Regions from separate parts of the Homo sapiens genome. Here regions 1, 2, 3, 4 and 5 are each linked to region 6. Evidence: promoter capture Hi-C in 16 types of primary human blood cells and fetal thymus (Javierre and others, 2016). All regions are on one chromosome and are shown on one strand. Each heading gives the region's core, a stretch centred on a gene start or on the middle of the fragment in contact. The rest is flanking DNA. Distances are from core to core; before and after follow the strand shown. Region 1 overlaps LOC124903003 (a long non-coding RNA gene). Region 2 has its middle 33 kb from the start of CHST11. Region 3 has its middle 67 kb from the start of EID3. Region 4 overlaps TXNRD1 (thioredoxin reductase 1). Region 5 overlaps TXNRD1 (thioredoxin reductase 1). Region 6 holds the start of ALDH1L2 (aldehyde dehydrogenase 1 family member L2).

Region 1 (4,235 bases), core at 1,222-3,721, 680 kb before region 6:
GCGCCACCACACCCGGCTAATTGTGTATTTTTAGTCGAGACAGGGTTTCTCCATGTTAGTCAGGCTTGTCTCAAACTCCCAATCTCAGGTGATCCGCCCACCTCAGCCTCCCAAAGTACTGGGATTACATGCATGAGCCACTGTGCCCAGCCTTTTTAAATTTTTTTTTTTAATTTTTGTTGTTGTTGTTTTTGTTGTTGTTGAGACAGAGTCTCACTCTGTCACCCAGGCTGGAGTGCAGTGGCATGATCTCGGCTCACTGCAACCTCGGCCTGCTGGGCTCAAGTGATTCTCATGCCTCAGCCTCCTGAGTAGCTGGGATTACAGGCGCCCGCCACCATGCCAGGCTAATTTTTGTATTTTCAGTAGAGACGGGGTTTCACCATGTTGGCCAGGCTGTTCTCAAACTCCTGACCTCAGGTGATCCTCTCGCCTCGGCCTCCCAAAGTGCTGGGATTACAGGCATGAGTTACCACACTCAGCAGCACTTCGCTTTTTAAAGCCTCTATTTCCTCCCTTGTAAAATGGAAATTCTTGCCTTAGTGTTTCCAAAGTAGAAATTCTTATCTGTGTGTGGCAGAGACCATGCTAGATCTTCAGCAAAACTTGTTTTTCTTTCCTCCAGGGCCCATGGACAAACCACACATGCCAGTGTCCCCACTGTTAGGGAGGGGTCATATTGATGGACTCTGACCAATAGCATGTGATGAATTCTCTTCCTACACCTGTCAGCTGGGAGCTGAGAATCCAGGGGGAAGCTTCTAAGGCTCCAGGAGGATGAGCTTTTAGATGGAAGGAACCTGAGTCCCTGAGTGACTTGGTGGAGAACCTCCACCCCCTAATCAGCTACACTGGACGTGACATGATTGAAAAATAAACATTGGGCATGTTGCTTTTATAGCAGCTAGCATTCCTTACCCAGGCCCATCTACCCAGCATTTCCCAGTGTCTGATACACAAGATGATTTCAGTATACCCAAACAGTTTAAAATGTTCACTTCTTACACATTTGTTTTATAGGTATGCTTTCTTGATGTATTACATATTTGTTTTATAGGTATTTCTTTATTAACAAAGAACCATAGACTGGGTGGCTTAAGCAACATTTATTTCTCACAGTCCTGGAGGCTGGAAGTCCAAAATCAGGGTGCCAGCAGGGTTGGGTTCTGGTGAGGGCCCTCTCCCAGATTGTAGACTGTCAACTTCCTGTTGCATCCTCACATGATGGAAAGATGGCTAGAGAGCTCTCTGGGGTCTCTTTTTTGAAAAAATTTTGTTTATTTATTTATTTATTTATTTTTATTTTACTTTACATTCTGGGATACATGTGCAGAGCGTGCAGGTTTGTTGCATAGGAATACATGTGCCATGGTGGTTTGCTGCATCTATCAACCCATCATCTAGGTTTTAAGCCCTACATGCATTAGGTATGTGTCCTAATGCTCTCCCTCTGCTTGCCCCCCTTCCCCCAACAGGACCTGGTGTGTGATGTTCCCCTCCCTGTGCCCATGTGTTCTCATTTTTCAACTCCCACTTATGAGTGAGAACATGTGGTATTTGGTTTTCTGTTGCTGTGTTAGTTTGCTGAGAAGGATGGCTTCCAGCTTCATCCATGTCTCTGCAAAGGACATGAACTCATTCTTTTTTATGGTATGGTATAGTATTGGTATAGTATGGTATAATATGGTATAGTATTCCATCACGTATGTGTGTCTGGGGTTCGTTTTATAAGGACACCAATTCTATTCATGAGGGCTCCACCCTCCTGACCTAATCAACTCCTAAAGGCCCTACCTCCTAATACCATCCCGTTGAGGTTTAGGGTTTTGACACATGAATTTGAGGGGTCACACACATTCAGACCACAACAAAGTATTAAATACACACACACAAAAACCTCATCAGCCTTATGATTTCAGAGATATTATCACTTAGGACAAGGATTGGTTTAATTATGCAAGTTGGTTAAAGAAAAATGTCAAGTAAATAACAAAAGGTAGCAGGTGGAAATGGCAAAAATTGTGACAGTGACACACAGGCTGGCTTACTCCATGTGGTTATTGTGAGGCTCAAATGACATCGTGTATGTGAAGTCCCTCTCGTGAGCTGGCCTAGGGGGCCAAGGCAGGTGGATCGATTGAGCCCAGGAGTTTGAGACAAGCCTTGGCAACGTGGCAACACCCCATCTCTACAAAAAGTACAAAAAATTAGCCAGGCATGGTGATGTGCACCTGTAGTCCCAGCTACCCAGGAGGCTGAGGTGGGAGGACTGCTTGAGCCCGGAAGGTGGAGGCTGCAGTGATCTGTGATTGTGCCACTGCACTCCAGCCTGGATGATAGAGTAAGACCTTGTCTCTACAGCAACAACAAAAGTCCCTCTCCTGGTCCGGCGCATAGTAAGTATGTGACAAATAGTAGCTCTCATCTTGTAATATGCAACCTGCATTACAGGATGGATTCCACCACCTCTGGTTTGCTGTTTACTTGCCTACTGCCCTTCATCTCTGAATCTCTAGTAGTAGCTCCATGCCCAGCACCTAATGGGGCCACATAAATAGAGACTGAGTGTTAATTATTAAAGGGGCATAACATCCTTTCCAGAATCACAGATTTGAGTACACTGGGCTATGAGCCCTGTGCAGACAAGAACTACATGTGTCTGACTGAGTGCTGTATCCCCAGCATCCAACCCAGAACCCAGTGCTTGGTTGGTGCTCAAGAAATATTTGTTATGAATGAACATACTTATCTGAATTCCTCTCATAGACTCCTACACTGCCCAACCTGGCCTGAGCCTTGAGAACAATACTTCTTAGCTAAAGAAGAGGAAAGTAGTCTGGGCACGGTGGGTCACACCTGTAATCCCAGCACTTTGGGAGGCCGAGGCGGGCGGATTACCTGAGGTCGGGAGTTCGAGACCAGCCTAACCAACATGGAGAAACCCCATCTCTACTAAAAATACAAAATTAGCCGGGTGTGGTGGCACATGCCTGTAATCCCAGCTACTTGGGAGGCTGAGGCAGGAAAATCGCTCGAACTCAGGAGGCAGAGGTAGCAGTGAGCCGAGTTCGTGCCATTGCACTCCAGCCTGGGCAACGAGAGCGAAACTCCATCTCAAAAAAAAAAGAGGAAAGTAAAAGTATGAAGAAGCAAAGTGACTTCACAAAGTCACACAGGTATGGGAATGTGCAGTGGGGTTTTTGAAAGTCACATGGGACATGAAGCAGTTCTTTGCTGTGCAAGACTGTCCCAGGCATTGCCTGCCAATGCCCATGAAAGCCAATGGTGTCTCTAATCATTGTGATAATCAGAGATGCTCTGGAAGATCTCCAAAACACCTCATAGGGACAGTACCCCCCTGGGAACTGCAGATCCAGCCTGTCCTTCCAAATGGATGAAGAAACTAAGACCCATGGAGGAAGACAGGCTTCCTCAAATGATGAAGCCAGCATTTGGAACAAATTCCTGACACTGGATTATGAATCTTTCTCTAGGGCCAGGCAGGTGGCTCATATCTGTAATCCCAGCATCTTGGAAGGCTGAACTGGGAGGATTGCTTGAGCCTAGGAGTTCAAGACCAGCCTGGGCAATAGAGCAAGACCCTGTCTCTATAAAAAATTAAAAAATTAGCCAGACATGGTGGCTTATGCCTGTAGTCCCAGTCACTTGGGAGGCTGAGGTGGGAGGATGACTTGAGCCAAGGAGGTCACGATCAGGCCACTGGACTCCAGCCTAGACAACAGAGTGAGACCTTGTCTCAAATTTAAAAAAAAAACAAAAAACTTTTTCTCCAATCATTGAGAGTAGGACTTGTTCAGATCATAAAGGAAGCTCCTGGAGGGACAGGGGCTTGGGGCCCATCAGGACTCAGCACCGCAGGGTGGTACTAAGGCAACTCCCATGAGCTGATGAGGAGGGAAGCCCCTGGGATGCTCTGGCCTCTGCCCCTGTCCCTTCTCCGCTGCGGCTCAGCCCTGCCTGGGGAGGAGAGCAGCAAGGGGGTGGGAGGGTGTGGGCAGAGATAAATCTGCTCCCAGGCAAAAGCTGGCTCTGACTCCTAATAGAACTGAGATGAGTGCGTGTATTTTAAAGCAAATAAATGTTTCAAGACCTGAGAAGGGAGACGTTAATGGCTCCATTCGAATTCAGCAGAATTTATTTTCCATTAGGGTTGGGCTTTCTGAGAAGCTTGGTTCAATCAAGGTTAGACATGAAAACAGCACTGTGGCTGAGTG
Region 2 (4,390 bases), core at 1,248-3,747, 660 kb before region 6:
GTGTCCTCAACCTTGGCTAAATAAACCTCTAAATGATTAAGACAGCTGCCTCAGTCACTTTTTGGTTCTGTAAGTTATCTACAGTTTATAGGATAGAGGTTAGATTCACAGCTGTGTGACCCTGGAGAACTCACTTAACATCTCTGTGCTTCAGTTTCCTTATCAGTGCAAGGGAGATCATAACAGCACTTACCATAGTGGGTTGTGAGGATTAAATGAGCTGGTCCATGTAAACCACTCGAGATGGTGCATGTGCCTGGTAAGTGCTCAAATGTTAACTATTATTAATTTTATCTTCACCAGCCTTTAGGATATTGTTATTGTCCCCTAAGGCTCAGAGAAATGATGGCCTCTAAGCCATTAGGTGAGGACTCAAGCCCGGCTTTGTCTGATTCTGATCCAATAGTTGTTACACCTTTGCTTCTGGCAACATATTTGTTTACTCTCCCAATTGCCACCAGGGAAAATAATTTCATGGGCCATGATAAAAGCGTGAATGAGATAGTTGCTTTAGATTCAGGCATTTCTAGTACCCAGAAGCCTTAGGCAAATATATCTTCTGGAAATTCTACCTTCATCACCAATTCTTCCACACCTGGGAGGCAGCAGAATTTATCAGGGGCAGCCCAAGGGTTATCATTGACTTTCTCCAATTTCCTTTCCATCCACAATTTGGTTTATCACTCAGTTCATACTCTGTCCAAAAATATGTCCTGGAATCTGTCTTCTCCTTTGAACTCTTATCTGCCTAATTAGGCTTCAGGTTTCCAAGGCCCCCAAGTCCGCCTAGTCAGTGTTGATGAAAAAAGTCAAACTCTGTAAAATATTTGAAGAGATTTATTCTGAGCCAAATATGACTGACCAGTGGCTCATCACACAGTCCCAGGGGATCTTGAGAACATGTGTCCAAGGTGGTCAGTCTACAGCTTGGTTTTATGCATTTTACAGAGACGTAAGACATCAAGCAATCAATACGCATAAGATCAGTCTGGAAAAGGGGGGCAACTCTGGGGGGAGTGGGCTTCCAGGTCATAGACAGATTCAAGAATTTTCTAGTTGGCAATTGGTTGAAAGAGTTATTATCTAAAGACCTAGAATCAGTGGAAGGGAATGTCTGGGTTAAGATAAGGGGTTGTGGTGACCAAGTTTCCCATTATGCAGATAAAATCAACAGAAGAGAATATTTCTGATCAGACGTAAAAGAGTCTATCTGTATTAAGGTCTCTCTTTTTATGTTAATGCTAGTCAGCTGTGCCTAAATTCCAATGGGAGGAGGGTATAATGAGGCATGTCTGAACCTCACTTCACATCATGGCTTGAACTAGCTTTTCAGGTTAACTTTGGAATGCCCTTGGCCAAGAGGGTGGGGTCCATTGGCCAGTTGTGGACTTAGAATTTTATTTTTGGTTTATGTTAGTATTAGTCACACCCAGCTCTTTTGATTTTACTCTTTTTCCCTTTTCCCCCTCTTTCTGGTTCCAAAGACAGCTTTCCTGCAGCACTTCCCTTATTTTGAAATTATTTTTACAAGTCTGTGTTTCCTACAAGGGTAAACTCCTGAAAGACATGGTCTTTTTTTCTTTTAACCTGGAAATGGCTCCTAGGCACAATTAAGACAAGACTAACTCATTAATATGCCTAAAGGAAGAGTCCAGAAGGGGTGTAAGGGGCATAGATATTCACAGAAAGCAGAGACAGAGAAAACACACAAAAAAATGTTGACCCTCTCAGATGAGGAGAGGTTCTTTCTGACTACCTCAAGCTACCTTATTACTTTTTTAATTTGTAGAGATGAGGTTTCACTACATTGCCCAGGCTGGTTGAACTTCTGGGCTCAAGCGATCCTCCCACCTCAGCCTCCCAAGTAGCTGGGATTATAGTAAGTGTGCACCACAAACACATGGCTAATTGTTTAATTTTTTTTTTGTGGAGGTGAGGGTCTCACCGTGTTGCCCAGGCTGGTCTTGAACTCCTGGGGTCAAGTAATCCTCTCACCTCAGCCTCCCAAAGTGCTGGGATTTACAGGCATGAGTCACTGCACCTGGCCTTAGAATAGGAATGTTTCTCAAGAACCACAGATCCCTGCCACTTCAATCATTTGATGACTGAGCGAATGTCTCTCAAATTTAGAGCCTCCTTTGAAGACCTGCCTGGGAGAAACGAATGGGTCTACTTTGCAAAAAGGAGCTATGATTCCTGTGGTGAATAGGAAAATCAATCAGCATTTCTGTTTGTACACTGGCTTAGGGAAAGGCAACTGAGTCCCTACAAGTTGGTTCTGCCCACCTTCTGTTGACATACACCAGTCTGTGAGTCTTCAATGACTTCAGTAACCTCACTGAGGGAGCTGGCCCCATGTCACTATCATGACAGTTAGCAGATCTTTCTAAAAAAAAAAAAAAAAAACAAAACCATGCTGGATCTGATTTTTCCACTCAAGAAGTGCTTTTGGGGCCTTATCAGTCTTTCCATTTCTCCAGAAAGCACTACAAACAATAGTAGCAGTTTCCTTTTTTTGAAAATTTACTCTGTGCCAGGCACATAGTTTTGTTCCTGCCCAGAATACCCTATCAGTCTATTTCAACCCTAGCCATCCTTTAAAGCCAACCATTTGTTTACTTACTCAACATTTACCCAGCACTTTCTAGACGCCAATATATGTGGCAATGTTGAGTTGAGTGAGACGCAGCTACAGTCCTCAGGAGCTCACCGTGTAATGAGGCAGAAACAGAAACTCTCTAATGAAATAGTGCATAATGATAGAGAGACGAACGGGATCCTGTGGGATACAGAGGGTCATATAACCCAGCTTTGCAAGGGAGGCTGATTCGAGAGGCTTCGTGGAGGAGGTGACACATGAGCTGAATAGGAGAGAGACTGTGGAGAAAGGCATCCTTGATCAAGTTAGCAAGTGGAAAACCACAGTGTGTGCAGGGTAAAATGAGCAGTGGTTCCACATGTTTATGGAGGACAGGTAAAAAGCCAGAGTCTACATCCCAGAGGGAGAGAAGAGATTCAACTGTTCCCCCAGTCTTACTTTCCATGCAACTTGTGTGGTGTGAGCATCCTGCCTCTGCACTTAAAGTGCCTAAAAGATACATCATTATATGAAATATCTTCCAAGTACAAGCCTGCTGTTTCATCTTTGGGGACAACCAAAGAAACAGAAATCTGCCCCAGTATTGGAGGGAAAACTAATCATGCTAGCCCTTTGTAGAGATGCAGGAGGAAGACTGTGTACCTGATGAGCATTTAAAGGATTTTCTCAGGTAATTTAAATGTTGCACATCTTTGCTTAGACTTCAGAGCCAACCTCCTCCCGCTGCCATGCAGTTCAAGGGCTTGTCGATGTGTTCACCTGCATTTTGAAATTTTTCCCAATGAGACTGTTAATTGTATTGAGGATGGGTCCTATCCCTGAGACAATGCACTTGCATTTTTTCTGTAGAAGAAATCCTCTAGAATGCACAGTAGGCTGACTGGTTTTGATGAGATACCAGTGAGGGTGGCTTTAATTTAAGCAACATGTATACAATAACATATTCCACCAGAACTAGCAATATTGTCAGGTTACAGGTTTTCAGGGCTCAGGATACCACTAGTGGCCCACTTGCAGGGTCAGAACACACACTGGAAGTTCCCAATTGCTTCTTCATTTACACAAGTTCTGTAGAAGAAACTATCAATGACAAAGCAGTGACATATGGTGGTGAAGACACTCCCTGCACCAGACTAAAAGTTTCAGTACCACGGCCAGGTGGGGAATTAAAAGAAGGAAAAACCTTGTAAACTTGATGTTAGAGTCAGAGAAGGGATGATCCAATGCCTACAATATGAGCTGAGGGCCAAGAATATTTATTATTTCTTTTACTGTTAGTTCAAATGTGAATTTCCTCTGCTCAACTCCAGACACTCAACTCCAATTTTCTGACAGTAACCATTGTAAAAAAATATTGCCACCATCTTTGTCTTTTGGGCTTATAAGTGGACTAAGTTCTTATGCTTGGTTAGGTAGAATCTTTTCAGTGACCTGAAAATGAAGGCATATGCAAATATCTTTAAAATAGTCTTTTTGAAGCTGCACAGAAAGGAAGAGTCGAGAGATCCTTCTGCGGTAGTATTGATTCCTCCCTCCCTCCCAACCAAGCCAGATCTTCAGCAGGGAGCTGGAATTGGGTTTCCAGAATAAGAGGATTGTATCCTAACAGTTCTGGAACTACATGGGGTGACATTCTCATTCAGGTGCCACCCAAGGTTTGATGACATCTGTAACAAGTCTGCTGAGAGGACAGCACAGAAGTCCCTTCAGAGGAAAAAGGCAATAAGAATGCAGCATCAAGATCCTGATTTATCGTGTTCGCATTTACCTGCCAGTCTCCTTGGATACGCC
Region 3 (4,108 bases), core at 625-3,124, 710 kb before region 6:
TTGTGATGAGTGAGGCAACATACGGTACAGAGGACTTAAGAATATTTTAACAGGAAAATCACCATAGCCCAGGGCTGGAGGTTGGGAACTGGGGAACTGGGGATAAGAATCCAGAAAACCACCCTGCCCAGCATGCAGAAGGGAGTTAATGGAGAAGTCTTGCTGGGTCGGCCTGTAAGGGATGAGTCCACACAAGCATTTACACAGGCAGAAGGAGGGCAAGGTCATTACATCCCTTTTGGACACAGTAAATGTCCAGTTGTCCTTTTCCCTGCCACTGTATAGTAAGATGGTGGTCAGGACCTGGGGGTGCCAATGACTGATCTCAACCATACCTCTAAGCTGAGAAGGGAAAGGTCACTGATTATTACTTAAGCCAGACTTAAAGAACAGTCCCAAAGCTTCTGACAGCCAAGACAATGTCCTCTTCGCTTTCAATGACAAAGGCCCAACTGAGTAACATATGAACATTGAGGGAGCCAACTGCACACAGACACTTGGACCACTGACCCAGGGAAACTCCTTAACTGCTTGAATGAAGTACCAGTCATTCATGGTCAATAGATTCTTCTGCTGCATGGAATTTCTGCTGGGCTGGTGGAGGCAGCTGAGAAATAATGGGGAGAGGCCAGGACAAAGCATGGAAAAACTTCAGTTACGTTTTGTTGGTTAACAATGGGACCTTCAACAAGACACTCATTGGCTTGGGTCTCACTTTCTTCATCTGAATAATGGAGATAATAACACCTAAGTAGGCACGTTCCTGGCTTTAAGTAACAAACACCCACTAACAGGGGCTTAAACAAATATATGTTCATTTTTCTGACATAAGGAGTCGCAGCCAGTTGGGTGTGGACATTGGAGAAGCATCTCAGTAATGTCAGAGGTTTTGGATCTGCTTCTTTGCAATTTTCTCATTCTTTCCCTCATGGTCACAAAATGGCTGCTGTAGTTCCAGCCATCAAGTCTGTATTTAGTAAGGCAGTAAGAAGAGGGGGTGAAAGATAGGACTGCCTCTCTACCCTTTACACAGCCATCCTGGTGTTGCCTGACACACTTTTGCTTTTAACTCATTGGCCAGATCTCTGTCCTGGGCCATCCCTAGCTGCAAGGGAAGCTGACAAAGTGAGTTTTAGCTTTTCTTTTCTTTTTTTTTGAGACAGAGTCTCACTCTGTTGCCCAAGCTGGAGTGCAGTGGCGTGATCTCAGCTCACTGCAAGCTCCGCCTCCTGGGTTCATGCCATTCCCCTGCCTCAGCCTCCCGAATAGCTGGGACTACAGGCGTGTGCCACCTCACCCAGCTAATTTTTTGTGTTTTTAGTAGAGACGGGGTTTCACCATGTTAGCCAGGATGGTCTTGATCTCCTGACCTCGTGATCCGCCTGCCTTGGCCTCCCAAAGTGCTGGGATTACAGGCGTGAGCCACTGCGCCTGGCCGAGTTTTAGCTTTTCTAATCTATAGAGCACATGAAGAGTGTCTATCTCAGCATATAAAGCAGAGACTCCACTAGGCAGTGAAGGAAGGTAGGCAAAATGGATGTGTGTTTCATATCTGTGCCCCACACCCCATCCAGGGTCCGTCTCTCCCCAGCAGTTGTCATAAGGACTCATTATCATTTAGCCATCATGCAGAATATCAGAGCTGCCAAAAGGGAAAGCAAAGTGAATCGTCCTAAAGCAGCCTGCTTTTTCTTTTTTCTTTTTCTTTTCTTTTCTTTTTTTTTTCCTATTTGGAAGGTTTGGATTTGAAGTAAATCATCATTAAGCAGTCTAAGTATTTCCTTTATTTATTTATTTATTTGTTTATTTATTTATTGAGACAGGATCTCACTCTGCCATCCAGGCTCAAATGCAGTGGTGCAATCTAGGCTCACTGCAGACTCAGCCTCCTCAGCTCAAGTGATCCTCCCACCTCGGCCTCCTAAGTAGCTGGGGCTGCAGGCACACACCACCACACTGGCTAATTTTTGTATTTTTTTGTAGAGAGAGGGTTTCACCACATTGCCCAGGCTGGTCTTGAACTCCTGGGCTCAGGTGATCCTCCTGCTTCAGCCTCCCAAAGTGCTGGGATTACAGGCATGAGCCACCACACATTTTGCTTTTTAAAGCATTTACTTTAAAAATCTCACCTCTTTCAATCCTCGTTCTGTTCATTGTTTGCTCCAAGTTCGAGGGGCCTGTCAGTTCTTCCTGCAAATAAAATCAGTGAACAACCCTGTAGGTACACTTCAAGGTATACAGGGGAGCAGAGAATGCCGCCTGGGTAGGGGCGAGTGTTACTTCAGCGGCAGGGAAAGCCTCTGTCAATATTTGCGAGGAAGAGACGTCTCCAGAAGTAAGAAAGGCCACATTATGGAAATGGCATGTTTTATGCAGGGAGACACTTGAGAATCAGGGAGAGTCAATAAAGGGGCTAAGAAGGGTCAAGAACTTGGGTTTGAGAATAAGGCGAGTCTACTAGTTGAGAAGGAGAATAAGGCTTCGGTAAGCCAGCCCCACCTGCCACCTTGCCACCCCTTTTTAGGAAATAAGGGACAGTTGCCAGGGGCTGTTTTGTGACATAATCTAGAGGTATTTATGCCAAAAGGACTGACGGAAATACCACCACTGCCAACCACGACAGCATCCTGGTTCCCTAAACGGATGGGCTTCTTTGTTTTCCTTTGTCACAAGGAATTAGAGGAATGTGGCTACACCCGCAGCTTCTAACACCAGCTAGCCTGGGTTCACATCCTGGATGAATCACTTACTGTGTAACCTCAGGCATATTGTTTAACCTCTCTGTGCCTCAGCATCCTCAGCTGGAAAATGGGGGTGGCAATAGCAGCACCTCCCTTGTGTGGTTGTCAGGACAAAATAAGTTAACTCAGGGAAGTAAGGAAAGTTAATTAGTAAATAAGTTAACTCTGGGTAAGTAAGGTATCGAGGACGGGGGCTGGCCTCTAGAACGTGCTGTGTTAGTGTTGGTGATTCTTACGTGTGAACCAGCAGCAGATGGAAGGTCTGGCCGTTGAGGGATGCTACTTTTTTCCTGACGATGACTATGAACGTCTTGTGTGGTCTAAGACAGCAGTCCTTTTTGGCATCAGGGACCGGTTTCATGGAGGACGATTTTTTCCACGGTCGGGGGGTGAGGGGGGTCAGGATGGTTTTGGGATGAAACTGTTCCACCTCAGATCATCAGACATTAGTTGGATTCTCATAAGCAGTACACAACTTAGATCCCTCGCATGCCCAGTTCACGATAAGGTTCATGGTCCCATGAGAATCTAATGCCACCACTGATCTGACAGGAGGCGGGGCTCAGACGATGATGCCAGGGATAAGGGGCGGCTGTAAATACAGATGAAGCTTCGCTCACTTGCCCGCAGTGACTCGCCCCACTTCCTGCTGTGGGGCCCAGTTCCTAACAGGCCACAGAGCGGATGAGTACCGGTCCACAGCCCAGAGGCTGGGGACCCCTTGTCTCAGAGACATCTTGAGAACCTCTTTATTTCCTCTTTGTTAATGCAAGAAGTGGTTTTGAAAGCAATTCATGCATTTTCAGGAAAGAAGGCAAAAGAGACTAGGGAAGGGGGTGGGGAAGGCTTACCAGGTGCTGTATACACGACAAAGCAGAAAGGCTGGGAACTACAACTCTGGAGTCAGACACATTTTGGGTTGAACTCAGTCACTGCCCATTAGCATAGTGATCCTGGAGAAGTCATCTACCCTCATGTGTGAAGGAGAAACAATGAATGCTCCTGGACCCTAGAGCTGCTCAGAGGATCCAATAGAGCAAAGATGTCAAAAGGCCAGCGCCATGCCTGGCACAGAGGAAGGATTCAATCAGTTAATTCAGCCATGCTGAAGCCACCATGATGTGACAGAAAATCAGCTTGCAGCTGGGGGAGCGGGATTTGCCTCCTGATCATCTGCCCCGGAATCCACCACCTTCCTGAATGGCAGTCCCAGCAGCGCCAGGGTGGAAGCAGATGCTGGCTGAGGAGAGAATCCTGCCCTTCCCCGTCCAGCCACTTCCAGCCGTCTCCCAGCCCCTGGGTGCTGCACGGGCAGTACCAAGACTTCCCTGGCCCGGAAGGACCTCTGACAAGGCCCTGGAAGCCCA
Region 4 (3,866 bases), core at 107-2,606, 730 kb before region 6:
CTTTACTGACCTGCTCAGCAGTTTCTTCTCTCATATATTCCCAAAACAAGTACATCTGCGATCAACTCTAGCCAAATTTGCCCCTGTGTGCTACATGATGGATGATTATTATTTTAAGGTCTGTTTAGGAAGGGAAATGGCTACTTGGCCAGCCATTGCCTGGCATTTGGTAGTATAGTATGATTCTCACCATTATTTGTCATGGAGGCAGACATACACCAGAAATGGGGGAGAAACAGTACATATCTTTCTGTCTTTAGTTTATTGTGTGCTGGTCTAAGCAAGCTGAGATCATTTGCAATGGAAAACACGTAACTTGTTTAAAAGTTTTTCTGGTAGCTTTAGCTTTATGCTAAAAAAAATAATGACATTGGGTATCTATTTCTTTCTAAGACTACATTAGTAGGAAAATAAGTCTTTTCATGCTTATGATTTAGCTGTTTTGTGGTAATTGCTTTTTAAAGGAAGTTATTAATATCATAAGTTATTATTAATATTTTGAACACAGGTGGATGTGAAGGATTTTCATTTAAAAACCAAGTGGTTTTGACTTTTTCTGTTGAATGAACAACTGTGCCTTGTGGAATTTTTGCAGAAGTGTTTATGCTTTGTTAGCATTTCAACTTGCATTATTATAAAGAGGTATTAATGCCTCAGTTATGTGTTTGTCAATGTACTGGCTGAGGATTCTATCTCAGCTGTCTTTTCTAACTGTGTAGGTTGAGTTTTGAACACGTGCTTGTGGACATCAGGCCTCCTGCCAGCAGTTCTTGAAGCTTCTTTTTCATTCCTGCTACTCTACCTGTATTTCTCAGTTGCAGCACTGAGTGGTCAAAATACATTTCTGGGCCACCTCAGGGAACCCATGCATCTGCCTGGCATTTAGGCAGCAGAGCCCCTGACCGTCCCCCACAGGGCTCTGCCTCACGTCCTCATCTCATTTGGCTGTGTAAAGAAATGGGAAAAGGGAAAAGGAGAGAGCAATTGAGGCAGTTGACCATATTCAGTTTTATTTATTTATTTTTAATTTGTTTTTTTCTCCAAGTCCACCAGTCTCTGAAATTAGAACAGTAGGCGGTATGAGATAATCAGGCCTAATCATGTTGTGATTCTCTTTTCTTAGTGGAGTGGAATGTTCTATCCCCACAAGAAGGATTATATCTTATAGACTTGTCTTGTTCAGATTCTGTATTTACCCATTTTATTGAAACATATACTAAGTTCCATGTATTTTTGTTACAAATCTTCTGAAAAAAAACAAAACAATGTGAAACATTAAAATTAAAAGGCATTAATAATATCCACGTGTGCCTTCTTACTGAATGATGGTCTTGGGAGTCTTTGCAAGAGTATTGAGTAGATCTCTGATATTGTGTTGAAAAGCTAGCTGCTGAGTAGGCTCCAATGATGCTATGCTGATTTAAGTATAGAAGAACTAATCAGTTCATTGCCATTTCCCATCTTCTGGCAGTATCAGGCACATAGATGGTCAATAAATGTTTCCAGAAATGTTGATTACCATGTTCAGATTATGCATTCACATGCACTTAATCTTCTTAGGTATCACTTTTTAAGCAGAAACTCCTCTTTTATGTAATCTTTACCAAAAACCTTCCCAGTTTGTACTTGTTTTTGTGGTAAGTAGTTGCAGGGTGCTAGTAATAACAACAGCTAAATGAGTGTTTACTGCAACACGTGCAGGCACTGTGCTTGACACACCCTGGCTGATGTGATCCTTACAACAATCCTATTAGAGAAGGTGCTTTTGTACCCATTTATAGATGGAGAAACAGGCTCAGAAGTGTAAGTCACTTTCTTAGGATTACACAGCCAGTTAATGCATCACGTTTTTGAGGCCAGAGTTGGGTCTGTGACCTCAAAGGCGCTACCTCTTAGTTACCTCGCAGTGCAGCCTCCCATTCATCTCTGACAAATGGAAGCTTTTAGGTCTGCTGCATCAATTCCTGGGACTTCACATTTTCACATGCCGTCAAGCAATGCTGTCTACACGCTTAATAAATACCTTGTCTTGAGATGTTCTAACACTTTCCTAACTGGACTTTCCACCGCCAGTTTACTTCCCACTAGAGCCAGGCTCTTATTGCCTGAACTTCCCTGTCTCAAGCCTTTGAGGTTTTCCCAAGGCCTGTAACTAGACCCACAGTCCCCTGCCAGACCCTGAACCTGTTATCTGCAGCTCTAGCCTGCGCTTTCCCTTGCCTGTTCTGGCTACACCTGCTCTATGTCCCCATATAACTACTAGCCTCCCTCAAAGGTCACCTGCTCTGCGTAACTTCCAGCTGGTTCTCTACCTCTACTCCCAGGGTACTCTGTATTGTCTCTAGAGCTCTTTGAATTACTCTGCATGGAGTGTAGTGTGTGTTTCTGTCACCACCACTAGATAATGAGGGTTCTTTACCTCTGTGTGCCCCACAGCTTCTAGCACAAGGTCTGGCACTACAGAAGCACTTAGAACATTGGTGTAATTGGATTGACAGGTAGAGCCATAACTATCAGAGATGGCCATATAGGAAGCCTTTTAATTTCTTCCTGTTATGTCAGGAGCCATTGATTTAAATGTTAATGAAAGTAGAAAGGGCCTAAACAGAAAAAAAGTCAGCCTCACTAGTGAGGGGGAATGCAAATTAAATTGCAGTGAAATGCAAATCAAGCTGAAGTGAGATACCATTTTATACCCACTGTGAGTGGCTACTTTTTTTTTTTCTTTGAGACAGGGTCTTGTTCTGTTTCCCAGGCTGGAGTGCAGTGGTGCGAACACAGCTCGCTGCAGCCTCTGACCTTCTGGGCTCAAGCCATCCTCCTACCTCAGCCTCCCAAGTAGCTGGGACTACAGGCATGCACCACCATGCCCAGCTAATTTTTTAAGTTTTTGTGGAGATTGGGTTTTTTGCTCTATTGCCCAGGCTGGTCTTGAACTCCTGGGCTCAAGTGATCACCCTGCCTTGGCTTCCCAAAGTGCTAGGATTACAGGCATGAGCCACTGTCCTAGCCTGGATGGTTAATTTTATGTGTCAACTTGACTGGGCTAAGGGATGCCCAGAGAGCTGGTAAAATATTCCTGGATGTTTCTGTGAGGGTGTTTCTGAAAGAGATTAACACTGATTCGAATCAGGAGACAGTAAAGAGGGTCACCCTCACCAATGTGGGTAGGCATTGTCTAATCCTTGAGGCCCAAATCAAACAAAAGGCAGAAAGGTGAATTTACTCTTTGCCCTTGAGCTTGGAGATCCATCTTCTCCTGCCCTCAGACCTTGCTGCTCTGGTTCTTGGGACTTTAGACTCAGATTAGGACTTGCACCCTTGGTTCCCTGGTCTCAGGCCTTCAGGTTTGGACTGAAACTCCATGACTCACTCTCCTGGGCCTCCAGCCTGCAGATGGGACTGTGGGACTTTTCAGGCTCCATAATCACATGAGCCAATCCCTCCTAAAAATCTCTTTCCATATTTTATGTACACACATATGTATAAAATCCATTGTTTCTGTGGAGAGCCCTCATGCACCCATTGTATGGCAGATTTAAGAGTGCCAGTATCCAGTGTTGTCAAAGACATGGAGCAACTGGAACACTTATTATTATTGCTGGTGGGGATGTAAATTATTCAATCACTTCGGAAAACAGTGAAGATCAGCATATCAAACATTTCGAAAATGATTTGAAATTTTTTTACATGTTTTAACAAAGCCAGTTTATTTTGTAGTTTTAATAAAAAAGGTGCCCTTTTTGTCCCTGGATTCACTTAGCATTCATAATTTTTTTTAATACAATGAATTTAAATTGCTAAAAGATCATGGACTGGCTTTCTGGTTGGATTTCAGGTAAGATGTGTTTAAGGCCAGAGCTCTT
Region 5 (3,966 bases), core at 1,351-3,850, 830 kb before region 6:
CATGCACACGCTGTACTGAGGTAAGGCTTTAAACTCAAGGGGTTTAAATGGAATTGAAGGAATTTGACAGACTTTTGAGCTCAAATGTAAACAACTGGATTTTACCTTTAGGAAGAGTGTATGTAGGCTGGGCGCGGTGGCTCACACCTGTAATCCCAGCACTTTGGGAGGCCAAGGTGAGTGGATCACAAGGTCAAGAGATCAAGACCATCCTGGCCAACATGATGAAACCCCATCTCTACTAAAAATACAAAAATTAGCCCAACGTGGTGTCATGTGCCTGTAGTCGCAGCTACTCGGGAGGCTGAGACAGGAGAATCACTTGAACCCAGGAGGCAGAGGTTGCAGTGAGCCGAGATAGTGCCACTGCACTCCAGCTTGGGGGACAGAGTCAGACTCCATCTCAAAAAAAAAAAAAAAAAAAGGAAAAGTATATGTAGGTGTAACTTGCTTCAGAGTAATTGTAAAATGTGGATTTGATAACAAAATATTGTTTGAATAATCTTTCTGAGCTTTTGGGAAGTATGAGACATATTCAGGTAGTCGAGGTCAGGGAAGGTTAGGGTGGGGGAGTTACCAAACCGGTTGATTTGCGGCCCTTTCAGATATGTCTGTAGGGAATATTTCATAAGGAATGGTTACTTAGGGTACTACCAAATTTTGATAAATATCTCTTCATGCTTTGGTTTATTATGGGGAAAATAACTTCACAAAGAATAAACTGTTTCCTACTTGGTTCTTAATCTTAGATTATCAGAGAGAAAAGGTCAGTGGTTACAGCCAAGGGGAGGATTAGTTTAGTCCACCCTGAATAAACCAGGGTGGACTTAACCATTAACGAAGGTGAGAATTGAAAGGCAAACCTGATCTGTCTGGTGCTTCATAGGAAGGCTGAGGGCATTTAAATGTCACTGAAGTTTAGCTCTAGGCCTACACAATGGAGTCTTAGGTAAATATAACTGGCCATCTGTCCAGGTTCACTGAGAGGTTAATTTATTATTTTTTATATATATATATATATATATATATATATTTTTTTTTTTTTTTTTTTTTTTTTTTTTTGAGACGGAGTCTCGCTCTGTTGCCAAGGCTGGAGTGCAGTGGCGCGATCTCAGCTCACTGCAAGCTCCGTCTCCCGGGTTCATGCCATTTTCCTGCCTCAGCCTCCTGAGTAGCTGGGACTACAGGTGCCCGCCACCACACCCCGCTAATTTTTTGTATTTTTAGTACAGACGGGTTTTCACTGTGTTAGCCAAGATGGCCTCGATCTCCTGACCTTGTGATCCACCTGCCTCGGCCTCCCAAAGTGCTGGGATTACAGGCGTGAGCCACCGCGCCCGGCCGATTTTATTATTAAGTTTAATTTTCTCTCAACTTGTCTGCCCCATGACTTACTTTCCAGATCTCAAGGAGTTTGAATTCAGAAGTCTTTTTATTCTGGAAGCCTTACATAGAAATAAATGGGCTTATGGGCTTTTTGGACTCTCTCTCTCTGTTTCTCTCTCTCGTTCTGCATGTGTGTGTGTCTGTGCACACGTGCACTTTTTTCCCAAGTAAAGAAAAAGGAAGGTGGGCGGCAAAAACACTGAGGTACGGAGACCCTTTCATCCTTGTGTCTCTCCTGAACACATTCTGCATCGATGCCACCTTAGGCTTCATCCCTATCAATATGATAGTGATGCCTTTCATGTAGGACATCATATTGGGAGTAGGATTGCAAAGAGGCAGAAGACACAGTCCCATCCCTGGGGGTTTAGCTCAACTGAGGGCAGAACATAGGCTTAAGAAGAAAAATGATCTCAGATAACCCATGCTAAATTCTACATGATTGGACAGGCAGCAAGTGCTAGAGAATTTAGAAGAGGGCTGGGCATTAGAAATCTGCTATGTAATTCTTGGCCTCTAGGGGCTTAATTATGTAGCTCTGCAATTCTTATCTGCTTTTGGGACCTACTGCCCCTCCCCCGCACCGCCTGCCACTTCCTTTTTTTTAATCTTTAAAATGAAGGGCTTGAACTAGTTGCTTATTGAGGGTTTTTTTGTTTTTGTTTTTGAGACAGAGTCTCGCTCTGTTGCCCAGGCTGGAGTGCAGTGGTGTGATCTCGGCTCGCTGCAACCTCCGCCTCCTGGTTCAAGTGATTCTCCTGCCTCAGCCTCCCAAGTAGCTGGGACTACAGGTGCACACCACCATGCCTGGCTAATTTTTGTATTTTTAGTAGAGATGGGGTTTCACTATGTGGCCAGGCTGGTCTCGAACTCCTGAGCTTGTCGTGATCCTCCCACCCCAGCCTCCAAAAGTGCTGGGATTATAGGCGTGAGCCACTGCGCCCAGCCTGAGGGTTTTCTTAGTTCTGAAATTACGTGCTTGTCTAGTCTTTTTCGTTACCAAACAGGTTAAGAGCCTGGACTCTAAAGTCAGAGTGTGGATCTTGGCTCTGTGATTTATCAGCCATGTGACTTTAGTTATTTACCTGTGGTGCCACAGTTTCCCCATCTGTAAAATGTGGATGATAATAGTATCTATATCGTAAGTTTGTTATGAGGATTAAATTAATTAATATTTATAAAAGCCATAGAACATACCTGAGACATAGTAAACACTATATCAGTGTTTGTTAAATAAAAGAACTACTTGCATTTTTCCTTTTCCTATCAGGACTTAAAACCTTGGGTGGTTAATCTTCCTTCTGTCAGTACTGAGGCTAGATTAAATGGTAATCAACAAATACCTGACATAATGCTAAGTACAATTAATCCTATCAGTGGGTAAATAGCTACCATTTGAGTGCCAACTATGTGCCAGGCATTCGGTCACTCTACTCATATTTTCAAACATTATTAAAGAATCGGGAGCTGGGCACAGTGGCTTATGCCTGTAATCTCAATGCTTTGGGAGGCCAAGGCAAGAGGTTCACCTGAAGCCAGGAGTTCGAGACCAGTCTGGGCAGCATAACAAGACTCTATGTCTATGGAAAAAAAAAAAAAAATATATATATATATATATATATCAGCATGGTTTGCATGTGCCTGTAGTCCTAGCTTCTCAGGAGGCTGAGGTGAGAGGATCACTTGAGCCCAGGAGTTAAAGGTTACAGTGAGCTATGATTATACCACTGCACGCCAGCCTTGGTGACAGAGTGAGACCCTGTCTCTAAAATAAATACATATGGGCGCAGTGGCTCACACCTGTAATCCCAGCACTTTGGGAGGCTGAGACAGGCAGATCACTTGAGGCCAGGAGTTCAAGACCAGCCTAGGCAACATGGTGAAACCCTGTCTCTTCTAAAACTACAAAAATTAGCCAGGCATGGTGGTGAATGCCTGTAATCCCAGCTACTCAGGAGGCACAGGCATGAGAATCACTTAAAACTCAGGAAGCTGAGGGGGCAGTGAGCCAAGATCGTGCCTCTAAGCTACAGCCTGGGTGACAGAGCAAGACTCTATCTAAATAAATAAATAAAAAAAATAAAAATTAAGAAATAAATAAATAAACAGAAAATTCCAATTTTAACCCTGCTGTAGTTCTGGAATGAAAAGTTGGGCTAGCGGTCAGGATTGCTACTAGTGGTAGATAGTCAGTATGCTCCTTGCAATCCCAGATCTCTTTGACCTATCATTGTTCTTTTTTTCTTTTCTTTTTTTTAGTCCCTATTATGCCCCAGAATGTTCTTATTCTTACTGTTATCTCTGAAATCTACTAACTCCCTCATTTCCCAGCTCTCCTGCCTATCCCTGAAAATGTAAAGCCTTGCCTATATTTCCCCCAGTTTTACTTAATTAAAACTAGCCTGGGAATGAAGAACTTTTCCTATAACATTTGTTGGTTAGTTATTTGCATGCTTATTTAAACATACAGTTGCCCGAGCGCAGTGACTCACACCTGTACTCCCAGCACTTTGGGAGGCCGAGGCGGGCGGATCACCTGAGGTCAGGAGACCAGCCTGACCAACATGGAGAAACCCCGTC
Region 6 (4,014 bases), core at 1,407-3,906:
GATTTTGCTAGGTTCTGAAAGCTTTATTTTTATTCATCCTTCATTCTGCTTTAATACTAAACTTAAAAGCATTGTTTGATTTTTAAATTTTAAAGATAAAGGGATAATTAGGCCGGGCACAGTGGCTCATGCCTGTAATCCCAACACTTTAGGAGGCCGAGGCAGGAGGATCACTTGAGGCCAGGAGTTCAAGACCAGCCTGGCCAACATGGCAAAACCTCGTCTCTACTAAAAATACAAAAATTAGCTGGGCATGGTGGTGCATGTCTGTAATCCCAGCTACTCAAAAGGCTGAGGCAGGAGAATTGCTTGAACCCCGGAGGCAGAGGTAGCAGTGAGTCAAGATTGTGCCACTGCGTTCCAGCCTGAGTGACAAAGTGAGACTCTGTCTCAAAACAATAAAAATTAAAAGATAATTTGCATGGGTAAAATGCACCCTCTTCAGTGTACTGTGCTGTGAGTTTTAACAAACACACAGTCACGTAACCACTACCATAATCAAGATGTAGAACAGTTCCATTACCGCCCAAATTCCTTTATGCCTATTTATAATCAATCCTTCCTCCTATCTCCAGCTCCAGACATCACTGATCTTTTTTCTGTCCCTATAGTTTTACTCTTCCAAAATGTCAGATAAATGAAATCATAAAATATGTAGCATTATGAGTCTGATTCTTACACTTAGCATACATATTTGAGTTCCATCCATGTTGTATGCATCAGTAGTTCATTCCTTTTTCCCCCAACTGAGTAGAATTCCATTGTATGGATGGATATACCACAGCTTGTTTATCCTGTCACCAGCTGAGGACAATTTATTTCCAGTTTTTGGCAATTATGAATAAAACCTCTAGAAACATCAATAAACAGGTTTCTATGCGGGCAAATAAGGTTTCATTTCTTTTGAGTAAATACCTAGGAGTGTGATTCCGGGGTCATATGATAGGTTTATGTTTAACTACATATAAAACTGCCAAACAGTTTTCCAAAGTGGCTGTACCATTTTATATTTCCACCAGCCATGTATCTGTTTGATTTTGAATAATTCTTATAAAACACAGTCCAGAACATTTTCTACAGGATAAAACATCCCACATTTTTCATTCACCACTCAGTAGCTTCCTTTCGACCACTGAGGAAACTGTCTTCTTCCCAGCCATGAGTATCACTGCTTTTCCATATGCACCCCTGCGTACAGTTAGACCCTGATCACGCCAGTTCTTCCCCACATCCATAGTTTTGTTTATGCCATTTGCCACCTGAGATGTTTACCTTTTATTACTGAAATCTTATGCAAACCGCACTATCAAAATCTTTTCATTCTGCAAGACTTCCTTCTGGTCACCAAAAAAGACAAGTCAGTGAAAGGTGTTGACAGAGGAGGCCAACAAAACAGGCTCAGGCATTGGGCACAGCCCGTTGCTTTCTGTGCTATCCATCTGGGATCCCATGTGCCACGTGGTGGGGGAAGCTAATGAGGGGTCCAGGAGAGCAGGCCAAAGTCCTAGCAGAGCAGGTCTTCCCCACCCCCACCCCTCGTTTTATAAAAGGTGACTATACCTCAAAGTAACTAGAACTGGTTGCAAAGAGTAAAACGAATTCTTATTATTTGGGGTTGTCTGGGATACAGAAAGCTTTTCCTTTGATGCAAGTTTGGGCCAGTTTTTGGTGCTACTCAAGACTTCTCTCTGCCTCCAAGTTTTTTACATCTGAATATATACATATGTACATATGGCTTTGGCATGGCCGAGAAAAAGAATCGATAAGCAAATTCTTTTATGTACTTCCTATAAAAGATACGATACATAAGACAGTTTTTATTTTTTTTTTTTCTCTCTCTCTCTTCCCTAAACAGTCCCGAGGCCCCCTGGGTGCTGAAGGCAGCACCGCAGTGCAACGTGTCCTCTCTCGGTTCCATTTCTGGAGGAGCTGATGCAATTCCAAGGCGCGGGGCTGGGCCAGAGCTCGGTTCTTGTGCTACAGTAGAATAGTGTTCCAGCGTGGCTGCCTCTGCAGCGCCTGGCAATTCTAGAAATTTTGCCATCTGCAGCTCAGCTCAGGAATACTGAGCTTGCAGCCATCAGCTTTGAGTGCCATTATCTGAACCGGCCCTGCGTGCCAGTCTCGAGCGCTTACACCTCCCAGGCCGCCAACGAGGACCCTATTGACTTGATACTCCCCTCCTCCAGGAGACAGTCTCGGTTCCATATGGCTCCAGCTCTTGACCAGGGATCTCATGATTGAAGTGAAAAAGGAAAGGAAGCAGACTCTGTCCTCCTTACCAAGTGACTGTTCCCACCTTGCCATCCCAGCCAGACTTGACACGTCCAAAAACTGCATCCTCAGCCCCCTCCCGGCAGAAGACAATGGCCTGCGTGCCAGTTCCCATCCGGGACCCTCCCCAAGCCCTCCTCTGAGGTCTCTCTGTTTTTGTTTGTTTGTTTGTTTGTTTTAAACGCTGTCTTGGTGTTTAGCAAAGTCTAAGCATCGCTGCTCATCCCCAGCCCCACCGCCCCGGCCCTCCCGCCCCGGAGTCTGGAAACCAGGACAGGGTGACAGCCGGGACGCTCGCCCGGGCCGGACTCACCCGGCCAGTGGAGAAGCGCCGGAGCGCCTGGCTGCCCCGCCGCAGCATGCTGGAGAGGAGCGCTAGCACTGGCGACGCGGCAGCGCGGGAGGCAGGCGGGCGGCGCAGCCTGGGCGCGGCCTGGGCGCGGCCTGCAGTCTGGATGCCCCGGACTGCCTGGCTCGCGGCTCGCCGCTCTCGGCCTCTGCTAGTCCGCACCCCTCCCAAAGCCCACAGCCCGCGGCCCGCCCCACCCTACCAGCTGCAAGGCCCCGCCCCCTAGCTGTCAAGACCCCGCCCCCAGCTGGAAGGCCCCGCCCCGCCAGCTGGCTGCGTTCGGACAGCCAACCTGGTGCGACCCGGCGGAGCGCGTGGGCTTCCTGGAGCCTGTGGGCCCTGACCCTGGTGCCAAGAGCGCACCCAGTCCCAGGGACCGCGCCTCTCCGCTGCCTGGACTTTCCGCCAATTCCAGCCAAGGTCCAGGTGCTTTCTAACTGTGGGACCCTCTACCAGTTACTCAGCCCCGCAGCAGTGTATACGGATCTACCTTATTAGTGGTCAATCTGACATCCCAAGTGCTGTCCATAGCACAGCCCGTAAAAGGCACGCCTGTAGACAGATAGGTAGTGGGGGCGCCTTCGCTGTGGAGGGATCCTGATGCCTACCTCGTAGGACGGTAGGCCGGGCGCGGTGGCTCCCGCCTGTAATCCCAGCACTTTGGGAGGCCGAGGAGGGAAGATGGCCTGAGCTCAGGAGTTCGAGACCAGCCTGGCCACCATGGTGAAACCCCGTCTCTACTAAAAATAAAAAATAATAAAATAATAAAATAATTAGCCGGGCGTGATGTCGCATGCCTGCAGTCCCAGCTACTCGGGAGGCTGAAGCACGAGGATCACTTGAGCCGGGGAGGCGGAGGTTGCAGTGGAGCTGAGATCATGCCACTGCACTTCAGCCTGGACAACAGAGCGAGACTCTGTCTTAAAAATAAATAAATAAATTGGTGCAAAAGTAATTGTGGTTTTTGCCACTGAAAATAATGGCAAACCCGCAATTACTTTTGCATCAACCTAATAGATACGTGCCCTTCTCCCTCACCTCTCTGGAAAAAACGCTCAGACCTGCTTTAGCTGGACGTTTATCTCAAGCCAGACTTCTTAGCCCAGCATTCAGGGCCGTCTGCAATTTGCCATTTTCTCTTATTTCTCACTGCTCTTTTGCATATGTAATTCTGCTTGACTGCAGTTCTTGCCTATTCCTTCTTGGACAATGTTTCCCAGAAAAGCTTGTCATCTGTCACTTGTAATTATCTTGGCACGACCGTTTCTTTTCTGAAAGGTACCGCTTACATGCTGCCTCCTGGAGGCGCTTTTTTCTGATTCTTTTCTCTCTTAGTCTCCTTATTCCCCATAAATAATTGTTCACTCCTCTTAACAGGAAATAATCTTTGT

Evidence for each region. Contacts are between HindIII fragments. The CHiCAGO score rates a contact against its expected background, and 5 or more counts as called.
Region 1: a fragment that was not itself captured here is called in contact with the fragment with the promoter of ALDH1L2 in region 6 in 8 of 17 cell types (non-activated CD4 T cells, naive B cells, naive CD8 T cells and 5 more); the score reaches 6.2 in non-activated CD4 T cells.
Region 2: a fragment that was not itself captured here is called in contact with the fragment with the promoter of ALDH1L2 in region 6 in 7 of 17 cell types (endothelial precursors, total B cells, activated CD4 T cells and 4 more); the score reaches 7.7 in endothelial precursors.
Region 3: a fragment that was not itself captured here is called in contact with the fragment with the promoter of ALDH1L2 in region 6 in 16 of 17 cell types (activated CD4 T cells, total CD4 T cells, naive B cells and 13 more); the score reaches 9.9 in activated CD4 T cells.
Region 4: a fragment that was not itself captured here is called in contact with the fragment with the promoter of ALDH1L2 in region 6 in 15 of 17 cell types (total B cells, total CD8 T cells, endothelial precursors and 12 more); the score reaches 13.9 in total B cells.
Region 5: a fragment that was not itself captured here is called in contact with the fragment with the promoter of ALDH1L2 in region 6 in 3 of 17 cell types (naive B cells, monocytes and total B cells); the score reaches 5.7 in naive B cells.

What each region holds. Positions count from the first base shown.
Region 1 is chr12:104,400,996-104,405,230 of GRCh38, forward strand. It overlaps LOC124903003 (a long non-coding RNA gene), which reads left to right. Exons shown (of 2, transcript XR_007063434.1): 2 at 626-898. Among named protein-coding and RNA genes, the nearest start is that of CHST11, 54 kb to the right of the region's middle. The HindIII fragment of the contact is 3,430 bases long and covers 757-4,186 here.
Region 2 is chr12:104,421,398-104,425,787 of GRCh38, forward strand. No RefSeq gene overlaps it. Among named protein-coding and RNA genes, the nearest start is that of CHST11, 33 kb to the right of the region's middle. The HindIII fragment of the contact is 5,119 bases long and covers 1-4,390 here.
Region 3 is chr12:104,368,897-104,373,004 of GRCh38, forward strand. No RefSeq gene overlaps it. Among named protein-coding and RNA genes, the nearest start is that of EID3, 67 kb to the left of the region's middle. RefSeq lists enhancers at 2,386-3,142, 3,143-3,900, 3,901-4,108. The HindIII fragment of the contact is 2,950 bases long and covers 400-3,349 here.
Region 4 is chr12:104,348,985-104,352,850 of GRCh38, forward strand. It overlaps TXNRD1 (thioredoxin reductase 1), which reads left to right. Exons shown (of 17, transcript NM_001093771.3): 17 at 1-1,323. Among named protein-coding and RNA genes, the nearest start is that of EID3, 47 kb to the left of the region's middle. The HindIII fragment of the contact is 1,164 bases long and covers 775-1,938 here.
Region 5 is chr12:104,251,659-104,255,624 of GRCh38, forward strand. TXNRD1 (thioredoxin reductase 1) reads left to right here. Exons shown (of 17, transcript NM_001093771.3): 2 at 1-20. Among named protein-coding and RNA genes, the nearest start is that of TXNRD1-AS1, 27 kb to the right of the region's middle. The HindIII fragment of the contact is 8,597 bases long and covers 1-3,966 here.
Region 6 is chr12:105,081,802-105,085,815 of GRCh38, forward strand. It overlaps ALDH1L2 (aldehyde dehydrogenase 1 family member L2), which reads right to left and starts at 2,657. Exons shown (of 23, transcript NM_001034173.4): 1 at 2,588-2,657. The coding sequence starts at 2,635. RefSeq lists enhancers at 1,500-2,300, 1,795-2,034 and a silencer at 2,535-2,964. The HindIII fragment of the contact is 2,214 bases long and covers 1,633-3,846 here.